2 separate regions of the Homo sapiens genome follow, and region 2 is linked to region 1. The links are contacts of gene promoters, found by promoter capture Hi-C in blood cells and fetal thymus (Javierre and others, 2016). All regions are on one chromosome and are shown on one strand. The core of a region is centred on a gene start or on the middle of the fragment in contact, and the rest is flanking DNA. Distances in the headings are between cores, read along the strand shown.

Region 1 (7,210 bases), core at 3,849-6,348:
GTGTTAAATGAGTGAATAAATGAAAATTAGAAATCAATATGAATGGAAAAACTGATCATCCTAAAAGACAGATGCCTGAGCAGCCAATAAAACACACAGCTACCACATTTTCAAACTTCGACCAGGATCTCTGAGCTATGCTGGATATTCTGAAAGCCTTGGCGGGACAGGGGATCAGAAACTAAAGCAGTAACAAAAACAAATGGTGCCCCACCGCAGCTTCCTTGGCCTTGAATTCTTTCTCCCTCTGCAGGCGGTACTGTTCAATTTCAGCCTGAGCTTCTTCTTTGGCCTGCTTCAGCCTCCGGTTCTTTCCTGTTTTCAAAGGAGAGAGCTATATCAGGAAGTGGTTAAAAGTAGAAAAGCAAGCAGAGACAAGATGGTATATTATAACAATAAGCCAAGAATAAATTATGACACAGTCCGAAGAGATGTGCATGGGAAAGAGGGAATTCAGAGCTAACAAACAGTACAGGTTCCTCCCTCCTATAGGCTGTACTTAACTAGGAAGTGACAAGACAAAAATGAATACCTTCTGTAACTACAGCCCATTAAAAAGATGGAAAAAAATTGTAGAATGTGTCAGAATATTCTCTCAATCTCAACTATTAAGAACCAACATAAAATGAGTAACATTAACCATCTAGGGAACTCTTCTCCAGAAGTAAACACCTTAAGTATGCTGCTGATTAAAGGTGCAACCCTACTCAGATGCTTAGCAAGAAGGCTAATAAGCTCGCAAGGGACAGCAACATATAATGTAACTAATGAACCAACTATATAATGTAACACTGGAAACTAAAAGCAGTCCCTGTCACAAGGAAGTAAGGACAGTGGTGACTGAGAAGGAATGCTGAATGAGGAGTACTGGACAGTAAGACTGCACAAGTGGCTGAGAGAAGAGGAGACACAGGTATTTTGGTTTCTAGAAGTGAGTGGCTTAACATACAGCTGGAAAAAATCTCTAGGTTTGGTCAGAGTCTACATGAAAACAGACCACAAGGACAGCCAACATATAATCTCTGCTTTGAGTCTCCGCTCACCAATAAAAAAAAAAAAAGAGAGGTTCTAGACCATCAACCTATTTATTTGAGAGCAAAAGACATCCTGCATCTAAAATTAAGCTTTGTTATACAACACTGTACATCATTGTATACCAACTGTCTAGAGTCCACGCGAATGAGTGAAAATGAACTTAACCTTCCACATCCTGATTCAGAACAGAACTTTGGACCTGTAATGAAATGACCCCATGACATCAACATTCCCTGATGCTAGTCTGAAACAATTAACAGGTCTCTCTCTCAAAACTCCAAGAACTATTTCTGCAAGTCCACATTCACTCCAGTATTATTTCTGGCCTACTACTGTCTGCTTCGGCCACCTGTACCCCAATCCTTCACATGCTATCTTCCCATCAGCTATAATGGGCTGTATTTCAAAGCTAAAGATACTTTCGAAACCAACAATCTATAAATAACACTCATGGCCTGAACATTATGCAGTAGCTCCGCATGATTTCACAAGACATCACCTCCCAACTCCCATGGCTCCCTGCATTTATAACTCAGGATAATACCATTTACTGCCTTTGGCAAACATCTTCAACATTCAATTTTGACAGGGGCCTCTAAAAATCAAAAATATTTAAACAGAAAATCGTATTTCTCTTAAATCTTGTTCTTCTTGGGCCTTACATATGGGAGCCAGTGTTTTGTTTCACTCCAATGAAATATGCCATTAACACAAACTTTTTTAAAATTTTAAGGTCCACGCCGGGCGCGCTGGCTCACGCCTGTAATCCCAGCACTTTGAGAGGCCAAGGTGAGCAGATCACAAGGTCAGGAGTTCGAGACCAACCTGGCCACTATGGTGAAACCCTGTCTCTACTAAAAACACAAAAACTAGCCGGGCATGGTGGCAGGCACCTGTAGTCCCAGCTACTCGGGCGGCTGAGGCAGAAGAATCGCTTGAACCTGGGAGGCAGAGATTGTAGTGAGCCGAGATCACGCCACTGCCCTCCTGCCTGGGGGCGACAGAGCGAGAATCCATCTCAAAAAAATAAATAAACAAAATATATAAAATAAAATAAAAAATAATAAAAAAAATTTAAGGTCCAACTCAATGATTTCATTAAAAAAACTGGATGGGATCATTTTATATACTGCCTCTTCCCAACTCTTAACTGGGCAAATCAACCATAATTATAAATCAAGAAAGGCAAATTTTCAAACTGCAGTTCTTCTGACTACCTCTCTGTTCCTAACTATTAACAATTCTGAGACAGGCAAGGCGCAGTCGCTCATATCTGTAATCCCAGCACTTTGGGAGGCCGAGAGTTTGAGAAGAACCCGGCCGACATAGTAAAACACTGTCTCTACTAAAAATACAAAAATTTATTTTTTTATTTATGTATTAATTTATATGTTTTTGTATTTTTAGTAGAGATGGGCATGGTGGTAGGCACCTGTAATCCCAGCTACTTGGGAGCCTGAGGCACAAAATCTCGAACTCTGGAGGTGGAGGATGCAGTGAGCCAAGATGGTGCCACTGCACTCTAGCCTGAGTGACAGAGTGAGACTCTGTCTCAAAAAAAAAAAAAAAAATCTGAGAAGTATGTAAGCCATAAACTAATACTTTGGTTTGTTTTTTGTTTTTTTTTTTTTTTGAGACGGCGTCTCCCTCTGTCCCCAAGGCTGGAGTGCTGTGGGACAGATCTCCGCTCACTGCAACCTCTGCCTCCTGGGTTCAAGCGTTTCTCCTGTCTCAGCCTCCCAAGTAGCTGGGACTACACGCGCACACCACCACGCCCAGCTAACTTTTGTATTTTTAGTAGACACGGAGTTTCTCCATATTGCCCAGGCTGGTCTCAAACTCTTGATCTCAGGTGATCCACCCACCTCAGCCTCCCAAAGTGCTGGGATTACAGGCGTGAGCCACCACGCCCAGCCAAATTAATACTTTTTAAAACCAATTCACAGCTACCTGACATATACAAAACCCTGCACCAGGCTTGACAGGATAAAGGTATAAAACATAAATCCTACCTGGCTAGGGCACTCAGAATTATTCTTACCTATTCCAAGCATTTTTTCCTGCACTTCCCCAATCTATTCTCCTATCCCTCCCGACAGATACAACTTCTGTTACTGATGAGCCATCAGAACACAAACTGTGAGAAGTCATTCTGGAAATACACTATCAAGGGCATGACTGGAAATATTCTGGGAAGAACAAAGAACTTTCCAGTCACCGGAGCAAGAACAAAAGGCTTCTTCTCATTCCCAACACCCTCAAAGAAAGCTTTCCAAGTACCACACAACCCCTAACTGCACAAGTAGAGGAGACATGCTTGAAATCTAGTTGGATGTCAGATAGAATAACTCCTATACTAGGAGAAACACCAAGGAATTACTAAGATCAGTATCTTCGCCTTGCATGGAAAAAGAGGCTTCTGAGTCCCAACTATGTTGCTTCCCAGGGTATGGATAAATCATTTCTCTCTGAGCCTCATTTTTACTATCTGTAAAATAGGGATAGAAGCATCTTTCTCACCAGACGGGAAACTGGATACATAAAGTTAAATGAGACATAGTTTCTGTTCTCCAGAAGCTTAGTCTAGTGACTGAGCCATATAAACAAACAGGTTATTGCACGGCAGTGGCAGAAATCAGCACTTGGGAGGGACTCCAAGCCTAGTCCGGGGGACAAGCATGAGTCAGGAAAGGCTTCCCGGGAAGAAGTGTTTCCTAAATTGAGGTCTGATGGAAGACTAAGGGTCAGAGAACAAAGGGGAGGAGAATTGGAAAAGGCTTCTCACGTCAGAAGAAACAGCGTGTGCAAAAACCTGCAGGTGAAAGACATCATGCTGCTTCTGAGGGACCACAACGATTCAGTATAGCTGGAGGAAAGCACCAGGCCTGACCCACAAGAGCCTCCCCAACTTCATTAAGGAATTTGAGCTTTCTTCTGCAGGAACTAAACGTCTGACTACAAAGGCGGTAGGGAAATCATATCTGCACTTATTTATTTATTTTGTTCCTTACCAGCAGGAAGTCACATATTTGCATTTTAGAAGGATGACTGATTGCAGAGAGGAGAATGGATTGACTGGAGGGGACCAGAACGGGTTCTTCCACTCCCCAGTCTAGATTAAACTCACCTGTTAAATTCTTTAGCAACCTTACATTTCTCCACTCCAGCCCTCATCTCTCCTGCAATTAATTAACTGACCCAATACCTGCTTCCTTCACTGCGACACTGAATGCCACGTTAGGGGAGACAACTGATGCACTGGGCACTGCGCTTGCCACATATTAGACAGAAACACACACACACACACACACACACACACACTGCGCTTGCCACATGTTAGAAACACACACACACTGCGCTTGCCACATATCAGAAACACACACACGCACACACGCCAACGATTTAGACAACTACAGTACCTTTAGAGAAACTGGTGTCCTGGACTAAGACGCTGGTAGTAGACATGGGGGAAAAAGTGAAAGATACGCAAGCCTTGGCGACTGACTAAATGAGGGAGGGAGAAGAGGCAAGCAGGACTCCAGGTTTCTAGACCAAGCAACTGTGTGGATGCTGGCTCCCTTCACCGAGACTGACCACCCCAGAGCGGTTAAGTGGGAGAGAAGAAGAACAAAGAGCTCCGTTTGGAGAGCCCATTTCACATGCCTCCAGGCCCCAAGGACGGTAACCCATTATTGTTTCCACGCCCAATTTACCATCTCACATCGTGGCTTCCAGGCGATCCGCAAGCCTTCCAGAGCCTCAGCTCCTCAAAGCTTCGAAACACACAACCTTCCGCGACTATACGCACGCCCGCACCCCGCAGTTTTTCGGGCCTAATCTACCCACCACCTGAGGCCCAGCGGTCTTTCTTCGACTCGCGCCACGCCGGGCAGCCCCACCCTGAAACTCACTTTTGCGGGCCTCGGACACCTTCTCGGCTGCCCGCTTCTCGGCCTGCAGCAGCTGCTGAATCCCCTGAGACTGACTAGCCATGGCGGCAGCGATTCTGAGAGCAAGGCAAGCGGCCTAAGGCACCTCGAAGGCCCCTTGGGTCAGCTGACACAGCCGCCCACAATCTGCGCTTGCTCCTTGCGCCTGCGCTTCGCCCCCGTTGTCACGTGACCGCACAGCGTAGCATCAGCTGACCGCTCTTGAACTTCTGTGATTCGGCAGAAATGGGGCGGGGCGGGGCTGAGGAGAAAGGAGCGGAGCTCCTCGACTGCGCCTGTGCAGTCTACTGCGCAGTACTGCCCTCTACTCCTCTGTCCGCTCCCTGGCCTCTTTTAATGGCTACCCTGTCGCTGGTTCACTCTGTAGCCGCCCTGCCACGTATAGTGTCTGTTTGCAGTATGCTCAACGTCAAGAGAGGAGGGGCCAAGTCAAATCACTTTCCTCCTACTCTCCACACTGCTCTACTCACTCCCTTTCTGGGACTTTCTTTGGCACTCAAAATTTTATCGGGGTAGTTCAGGAAGATTCTTGCCAGTTCCGGGGATAGAGTCTTGGGTTGCCAGTTAGGAGACTCGGGATCAAGTCTGCCGCTAACCTGTGTGATTTTGGACAGGTCGCTATCCTTTTCTGAACCCGAGTTCAGGAATGGACTGGACTGTTTCCCATAAATATTTGATGAAAGCCTGCTGTGATCCTAGTCCACTGTTGATATTGAGGACATAGCAGAGAGCAGGGCAAACAAGGTCCCGGCGGAGCTCACAGTTTATGGACACAGACAGATTAATTAAAATAAATAGACAATTACAAACTGTGATAAAGTCATGAAGGAAAAATGCAGGGTGCCGTAAGAAGGAACCTTTAGTAAGGGGAGAGGAATATGGAGGTGTCTCTGAATGCTGTACCAAGGAAGTGGTGTTTAAGATCTGAAGGCCAGGCGCAGTGGCTCACGAGCCTGTAATCCCAGCACTTTGAGAGGCCGAGGCGGGTGGATCACTTCAGGTGAGGAGTTCGAGACCAGCCTGGCCGACGTGGTGAAACCCCGTCTTTACTAAAAATACAAAAATTAGCCGGGCGTGGTGGCGCGCGCCTGTAATCGCAGCTACTCAGTAGGCTGAGGCACGAGAATCGCTTGAACCCGGGAGGCGGAGGCTGCAGTGAGCCGAGATCGTGACGCTGCACTGCAGCCAGGGCGACAGAGCAAGACTGTCTCAAAAAAATTAAAATTAAAAAATTAAAATAGGCCAATCGCGGTGGCTCACGCCTATAATCCCAGCACTTTGGGAGGCTGAGGCCGGCGGATCACGAGATCAGGAATTTGAGACCAGCCTGACCAATGTGGTGAAACCTGGTCTCTACTAAAAATACAAAAATCCGGGCATGGTGGCGCGCGCCTGTAATCCCAGCTACTCAGGAGGCTGAGGTAGGAGAATCGCCTGAACCTGGGAGCTGAGGTTGCAGTGAGCCGAGATCGTGTCACTACACTCCAGCCTGGGTGACAGAGCAGACTCCATCTCAAAAATAAATAAGTAAATAAATAATAAAAATTCTCAAAAAATAAAATAAGATCTGAAGAATAAGAAGTTACCCAGGAAAGGATAGTGGGGGATGGAGGCGGTGGGAGATGATTAGGGGAAAAGGACCAGCGTGTGCGGAGTTGGGGAGGGGGTCAACTTGGCACGGAGACATCTCCCCATCCACCGTGAATAGGGAAATAGGAAGCCATGGTTTGAGTTTACAGTATGACGGGCCCTTGTCATCGCTTCACTCACTCCTCACATTAACTTTGATACTGTTACTAATTCCATTTTATATTGACCAAACTGAAGCTCAGAGAGTCGCAAAGTCTCTGAGCCAAAAGTCATGCCCCTATTAACACACAGACAGGGTATTTGAATCCAGTCAGGGCTGCAGAGTAAAACCTCTGAGCTACTGCTTTTCTGCCGGAATCCTCTGGGCTGAGGAAAGGACCAGGTGACCTCTTAGAGTCCACTGAGTGCTGAGAACATAAAATAATGCCAGAATTTTTCTTGATACAAAGATTCTTCACTCCAGGAGCTGGATTCATGGCTCAGGACATTTTCATTTGATTGACGTGGTGGGGTTGGAAAGAACAGAATTTCTATCCTTTTCTGATGTGAGAAACAGGACTGGAAAGAGTTTTGAAGATAAAACAGAATAGAGCACATGGGCCCACATGTCTCCTGCCTGAGTTACTATATTCCTT
Region 2 (6,922 bases), core at 2,157-4,656, 200 kb after region 1:
ACTCTCCGGGACAGTCCAGGCAGCCGGACCAGCCCAGCCAGGAAGTTGCAGCTGCTGGAGCTGCACCGCTTTTCTCTTGGCTTAGGGGATCCCGGCCTCCAGGGCAAGGGTGGATTTAAGGAGGATTTCGTCAAGCCTCAGGATGCTAGATTCCAGTCCTAGCTCTGATTCTGATCTCTTGTGAACTTGGGTAGGCGGGTCCATCTCTGTGCCTGGGGTGTCGTCGTCTGCACCTGGAGAGTTAGTGTCCTTGGTTGCTAAGGGGTCTCAGAGACGATGCAGGCATGGGCAGCAGGCCAGGAGGCAGCGACGGCGCCGGGGGGTGGTCCCTATTGAAGGAGTGGCCCCTTATGCCAGCTGCGTAAGAGCAAGGAGAGGAGCCAAGGACAGTCCGAGGACCAGCAGACCCAGCTCAGCTCTTGAGGATGGCAAGACCAGAGCTGGCAACAGCCAGGGCACCGTTTCTCTTTCTCCTCGGCCTCTGCTGCTGGAGCGGGCTGGGGGCAGGGAGGACACAGAGAGGGAGTGGCTGGTGCTTCCTTGTGGGACTAGAGTCCACACAGCTGGTGGGAACCCCTTGAGAACAGCAAGTCTGTGCCCTGCCAGCAGGTGGGTGGGGGTATGGTTGAGCCTTTTTGGAAGGTCTGGTTACTGATTTGGGGGGTGGTCTTCCTTCCCCATCTCCCTGACACATCTGACAGCCTTGGTTTCAGAGTTGCGGTACCCCAGCTTTGAATCCTCTGTCTGCGCTTCCTGGCTGTGAGGTCTTGTGAGAGCAGGCCATGTCTCTGTGCCTCAGTGTCTTCATCTGGGAGGTGTCAGGGTGTGGGTGGGGGTAGAAGCAGGGTGGCACCCTGGACAGCTCTGGCTGGATGGGAAGGGGCTGCAGAGGGCACGGGGAGGCTGTGCGGGCTGCGTAGCTGTGCTGGCAAAGGAGAGCCTGGGCGTCTGGGCAGTTCTGAGGGATTGAGCCATAAAGGGAAGGGTCCCTGGCTGTGGAATGACTGAGCGGGCGGAGAAGCCCTGTGTGGGTGGTGGGGAAGAAGAGTCCATCCCACCCAGGAACTGAAGATAGACACCTCAGGGGTCTGTTAGACCCTTGAGAGAGCAGGGGCAGTGGCGGCTTGGGTGTAAGAAGGAGATGTGCAGAAGGAGGGTGCAGTGGCTGCTACTTCCTTGTGGGGCCAGTTTCTCCAGGGATGGCGGGGACCCTGAACTCCATAGCCCTCCCCAGCTCACACTGCTGGAGTCTTCACCAAACCCCACTCACTGCCTTTTAGGAGCAGCCCTGCTGCCCTAACGAGGGCTGGCTGGAACAACTCTGCCTTTATCTGGCATGCAGGGACACCTGCCCATAGCTCTCCTTCAAGGTCAGGCCATACTTTCAGACCTACGTGCCTTTGCCTCCGTGCTGTTCCCGCTGCCTGGAATGCCCTCCCCAGTCTTCTCCCCCAAATCCTCATTGTTTCTCAAGCCCACCTTAAAGCTTCCTTTGGTAACACTTCTGTATTGTACTACCCCCCACCGTTTAAAATCTTGGAACACTTTTACTCTTTTCTATATTCTTTGCATCTTACGTAGCGCCTGGTATATAGTAGGAAGTCATAGGGCTTTTTTAAAAAGTTAATTTGCGCCCACTGGGTGCTCAGTATGTATCTTTGTACTTTGAAATGTGACCTCAGGGAGGAGGAGAGAGGTTAACAGTTCTGAGGCTGTTGCCCTTAGAAGCTGAGTCAATCAGGGACTTCAAAGCTCTTTGAGTCCCATACCCTGCCTCCCAACCCACCCTAGCAGGGTGATATCCCCTTGCGATATCAAGAGCAGGTGGTACTTTCTCTATTTTACAGTGAGGAAAATGCAAGCCCAGCTATACACAGTGAGTAACAGCAGCCAGGACTAGCACCTGTCTCCTGATGCCCAGCCTGCTTCTCTATCACAGCATCGTCCCAGCCTGAGGTTGGCAGGTAGTTGGCACTAACGTGTGTTTGTTGACTGACTAGCTGACTGGCCAGTTCTGGGGCTTTGTGGTGAGGAGGGCCATGGCTCGCATGGAAGGCAGAGGCCTGGCTCAGGAAAGGCTCACTGGTTTAGGCGCCTGGGGGCAAGTGCGAAACTCTAGTCAGTCACTGCAGCTGCCTCTGACGTGCACCTTCCCCTGGTTACAGTGAGATTTCTGCCACGACTGAGTCATCCCAGAAGACAGGATGTTCCTCTTTGTGCACCCAGAGGGCTCTGTGATTGGGCAGGCTGCTCTGTGGCAGAGCTAGAAAAAAAGCCCTTTAAAAAGTCAAAAAACCGCACACCTCCCCCGGCCCCTTCCTCAGCAGAGGCTTCAGAATCAGAAAAGCAACAGCTAAATTGTAGCCTCTTCTCCACCTGCCATAACAGCAGGAGCCAGGAGGCCTAGTGAACTTCAAAGGGCAGGCCCTGCCTGAGGCCCTGGTTTAAAATGCAGATTCCTGGGCCCTATCCCAGGGCCACTGAGTCAGGCTCTCTGCAGGTTGTTTCAGGAAACTGCACGCTTAGAGGATTCTTAAGCACACTGAAGCTTAAGATCCCTGGCAGGGATTTCCAAGAAGGGTACAGGCCCTGCAGAAGGTATGAGAAGCAAGGATTAGAGCTTCTATTTAAAATATAGTTGACCAGCTGGGTGGGTGGCTCATGCTTGTAATCCCAGCACATAGGGAGGCCGAGGCAGGAGGATCATTTGAAACAAGGAGTTCAAAACCAGCCTGGGCAACGTGGCAAAACCCCATCTCGACAAAAAAAAATTTTTAAAATTAGCCAGGCATGGTGGCGCATACCTGTGGTCTTAGCTACTCAGGAGGCCGAGGTGGGAGGATCGCTTGAGCCCAGGTGGTCAAGGCTACAGTGAGCTCTGATTGCCATTGTACTCCAGCCTGGGTAACAGTGAGACCCTGTCTCAATAAAATAAAATACAGTTGATCCTTGAATAATACAGGGGTTAGGAGTGCCTCATGCAGTCAAAAATCTGCTTATAACTTTTAACTCCCCCAAAACTTTATCAATAGCCTGCTATTGACTGGAAGCTTTGCTGATAACATAAACAGTTGGTTAATGCATATTTTCTGTCTTATATGTATTATGTACTGTTTTCTTACAATAAAGTAAGCCAGAGAAAAGAAAATGTTATTAAGGAAATCATAAGGAAGAGAAAATCTACTTACTTTCATTAAGTGGAAGTGGATCATCATAAAGGCCTACATCCTTGTCATCTTCACATTGAGGAGGAGGAGTTAAGGGGGAGATTGATCTACTGTCTTAGGGGTGGCAGAGGCAGAAGAAAATTCACATATAGGTAGACCTGTGTGGTTCAAACTGTCATTAAGGGTCACCTGTATATATTTTCTTTTTCCTTTTTATTTTTAGTAGAGACAGGCTTTTGCCACGTTGCCCAAGCTGGTCTCAAACTCCTGAGCTCAAGTGATCTGCCCACCTCGGCCTCCCAAAGTGCTGGGATTGCAGGTGTGAGCCGCTGTACCTGGCCCATTTTCGATTGCATCTTTTTAGAAGATCACTTTTGAAAATACTCTTTCCAATACATGTAATATATTAGCGTGATGTGTTCGAGCAAATATATTTTTACTGATGGATTGTGTGATTAAAAAAATATTGGGGTACCACTAGGCCAGAATTGACAGTTGCAAATCTTGCTGTGGCAGGAAGTAGCTGGGTGATCTTAGCCAAATTCTACCCTCATGTTTGTAGGAGGGCAGATTGAGAATTTAAAAGTAAAGCTTCAACCCAGGCTGGCGCCGAGTGGGCTCTTCACATGTGGTAGGGACTGTGGGGCTGGAGGACAATACACAGGGTGATCTGGAGGAAATTGTAGGGCTCTGCATTTGGGGGTAGAGAGGAAGACTGGGCGGGGACAGAGGATAGAAGCCCCGAACACCCATCCACAGAGCAGGAGTCGCAGCCAAGGAGGGAAGAATGGTATTCCCTGCACCTCCCTCCTCCAGCCCTTGAGAAGTCAGCCTTTCCCGGGCTGCACTGTTCCCTGGGGAACTTTGTGTCCAAAAATAGTTGCCTGCTGACTTTTCTCAGCCACACAAATCAAGCAGGATCCAAGTGTTCATGAGGATAAAGGGACAAACACAGACCTTCTGTCCTGGGAGGCCTGGAGTCATACTGCCTTCAACACAGCATGCAGGGGAGAAAGCCCAGACTGTGGGCCAGGAGGCTGACTTTCACCCCTGCCTTGTCCTGACCCCTGTGTGGCTTTAGGCAAGGCCTCTCCCCTCTCTGGATCCCAGTTTCCCCATCTGTGGAAGAAGGCCTTTGTGTGAGCTGCTCTGGGGGCCGCTGCACTGATGGGCTGCAGTTCTCTGAACCCTCCATGGCAGGGAGCTCCCTGGGGGACCGTGCCCACTCTGGGTCAGCTTTGCACTTCCTGGGCCTGGCTCAGTGCTGGCATAGAGGAAGCGCTTAGGGAAATAGCAGGAGCGTCAGAAGGAAGAGGCAAAAGGAGATGAGAGGGAGAAGGAAAGAGGGAAAGAAGGAGAGGGTTGAGGGAAGGCAGCGGAGGAGCCCTTCTCTGGCTACCCTGTTCCTGCAGCAGCCGCCTGACGGGTCCCCCGTGTGGCCAGCCTCCCTGGTTCATTCTCCCAGAGCAGCCCAAGGGGAACTTTTAAACCACACCTCTGATGGGCTTTCCCTGTGTTCAATACCCCAGCCATCGGCGGCGAAACCACTCCCAGGTCCAGGAAAGCCCCTGGTAGGCTTGCTCCCCGCCCCCAGCTCGCCTCACTCCTCACTCGGAAGGCGTTTTCTTTAAATTGAGGTGAAATTCACATAACATAAAACTAACCATTTTTAGGTAAACAGTTCAGTGACATTTAGTATATTCACAGTGTTGTGTAACTGCCACCTCCATCTAGTTGCAAAACATTTTCATCACTTCAGAAGGAAATCCCATACCCAGCAAGCATTTAGTGCCCGCTCTCCTCTCCCCCAGCCCCTGGCAAATACCAGCCTGCTTTCACTCTCCAAGGAGTTACCTTGCCTGGATATTTCCTATCCATAGAATCACACTATATGTGACCTTTGTCGCATCTTTCACTTAGCATAATGTTTTTGAGGTTCATCTATACTGTAGCATGTGTTGGGACTTCATGCCTTTTCATTTGAGCACCTGTTTTTCAATTATGTTGGGTACAGGAATGCTACCTTTTTTTTTTTTTTTTTCCTTTTGAGACAGGGTCTCACTTTGTTGCCCAGGCTGGAGTGCAGTGGCGCTGTCATGGCTCACTGCAGCTTCGACCTCCCGGGCTTAAGTGATCCTCCCACCTCGACCTCTGGAGTAGCTGGGACTGCAGGTGTGCACAATTACACCTGGCTAATTTTTCGTAGAGACAAGGTTTTACCATGTTGCCCAGGCTGGTCTCGAACTCCTAGACTCAAGTGATCCACTCGCCTCAGCCTCCCAAAGTGCTGGGATTATAGGCGTGAGCTCTCCTACCTGGCCTGGAATGCTTTTTTCATCATCCTCCCCCACCTCTCAATCTGAATTCTTACCCCAGTGAGGTCAGAGAGGATTCTTGGAGGAACCGGCTTCTAAACTGGGATCACCAGACTTCCCTGGCCTGTGTCAGGGCAGCCCCCGTGCCTCCTCCAGCACATCTCACCTGGATTTGTAGTTGCCTGGTGATCGTCTGCTTCCTCCTGGGCCATCAGTTCTCCCATGAGCAGGGCCTGTGCCCCATGCCCACACGAAGAGCCAGTACGCAGTAACACTAGCTAGCATGCATTCAACACCTGTTCGTTGGTGCACTGGCCACTGGGCTCCTCATCCTGTGTCTCATCTAGTTTATAAAACCCTGGAGGGGGCCGGGCATGGTGGCTCACACCTGTAATCCCAGCACTTTGGGAGGCCAAGGCGGGTGGATCACAAGGTCAGGAGTTCGAGACCAGCCTCGCCAATACAGTGAAACTAAAAAATACAAAAATTAGCCGGGTGTGGTGGCGTGCACCTGTAGTCCCAGCTACTCAGGAGGCTGAGGCAGGAGAATTGCTTGAACCTGGGAGACGGAGGTTGCAGTGAGCCGAGATTGTGCCACTGCACTCCAGCCTGGGCAACAGAGTGAGACTGTGTCTCAAAAAAAAAAAAAAAAAAAAAAACCCTGGAGAGAGAGAGGAATTATTATCCCAGCTTTATTGATGAAGAAAATGAAGGCAGAGTGACTTGCCCAAGGTGACACAGCTTCGGGAGGACACAACCAGGAGTTGAACTGGGGCTAATTCCAGAGTTCCTGCTGGTAACTTCTTGTTCCGAATAAAAGAGGGGATCAGGATTGATTAATGTTCTCTCTTGAATGTGTCCCTGACAGGGCACAGGCAGGATGGCCGATGCTGACAGGAACCAGCGGTGACTCTGGGGCCCCTGGCAGCAGCTCTGTCTCCTGAAGATGAAGTGGCCCAGGTGAAGCCCAGGCCAGCCCCAATGGCCAGCTCGGAGACTGAGATCCGCTGGGCTGAGCCTGGCCTGGGGAAGGGCCCCCAGCGGCGGCGCTGGGCCTGGGCCGAGGACAAGAGGGATGTGGATAGAAGTAGTTCACAAAGCTGGGAAGAAGAGAGACTCTTTCCCAATGCCACCAGCCCCGAGCTCCTAGAGGACTTCCGCCTGGCCCAGCAGCACCTGCCGCCCCTGGAGTGGGACCCACACCCGCAGCCCGATGGGCATCAGGATTCCGAGTCAGGAGAGACTTCGGGAGAAGGTGAGACTGACACCCCTCCCCCTACAGTGGTGTCCTGTCCCCAAAACATCACACGTTCTTTTTTTTTTTTTTTTTTTTGAGACAGAGTCTTGCTTCATTGCCAGGCTGGAGTGCAGTGGCACGATCTCGGCTCACTACAGCCTCTGCCTCCTGGGTTCAAGCGATTCTCTTGCCTCAGCGTCCCG

Evidence for each region. Contacts are between HindIII fragments. The CHiCAGO score rates a contact against its expected background, and 5 or more counts as called.
Region 2: a contact is called between a fragment that was not itself captured here and the fragment with the promoter of ATP6V1G1 in region 1, in 6 of 17 cell types (fetal thymus, naive CD4 T cells, total B cells and 3 more). The highest score is 11.6, in fetal thymus.

Annotation. Positions count from the first base shown.
Region 1 is chr9:114,585,657-114,592,866 of GRCh38, reverse strand. ATP6V1G1 (ATPase H+ transporting V1 subunit G1) reads right to left here and starts at 5,098. Exons shown (of 3, transcript NM_004888.4): 1 at 4,947-5,098; 2 at 215-315. The coding sequence starts at 5,028. RefSeq lists enhancers at 4,663-5,172, 5,283-5,362, 5,001-5,819, 5,820-6,639. The HindIII fragment of the contact is 7,256 bases long and covers 4,811-7,210 here.
Region 2 is chr9:114,380,875-114,387,796 of GRCh38, reverse strand. AKNA (AT-hook transcription factor) reads left to right here. Exons shown (of 22, transcript NM_001317950.2): 2 at 6,351-6,737. The coding sequence starts at 6,464. Among named protein-coding and RNA genes, the nearest start is that of AKNA, 3.6 kb to the left of the region's middle. RefSeq lists enhancers at 1-188, 1,003-1,152, 1,923-1,982, 2,173-2,242, 4,275-5,090 and 2 more. The HindIII fragment of the contact is 708 bases long and covers 3,053-3,760 here.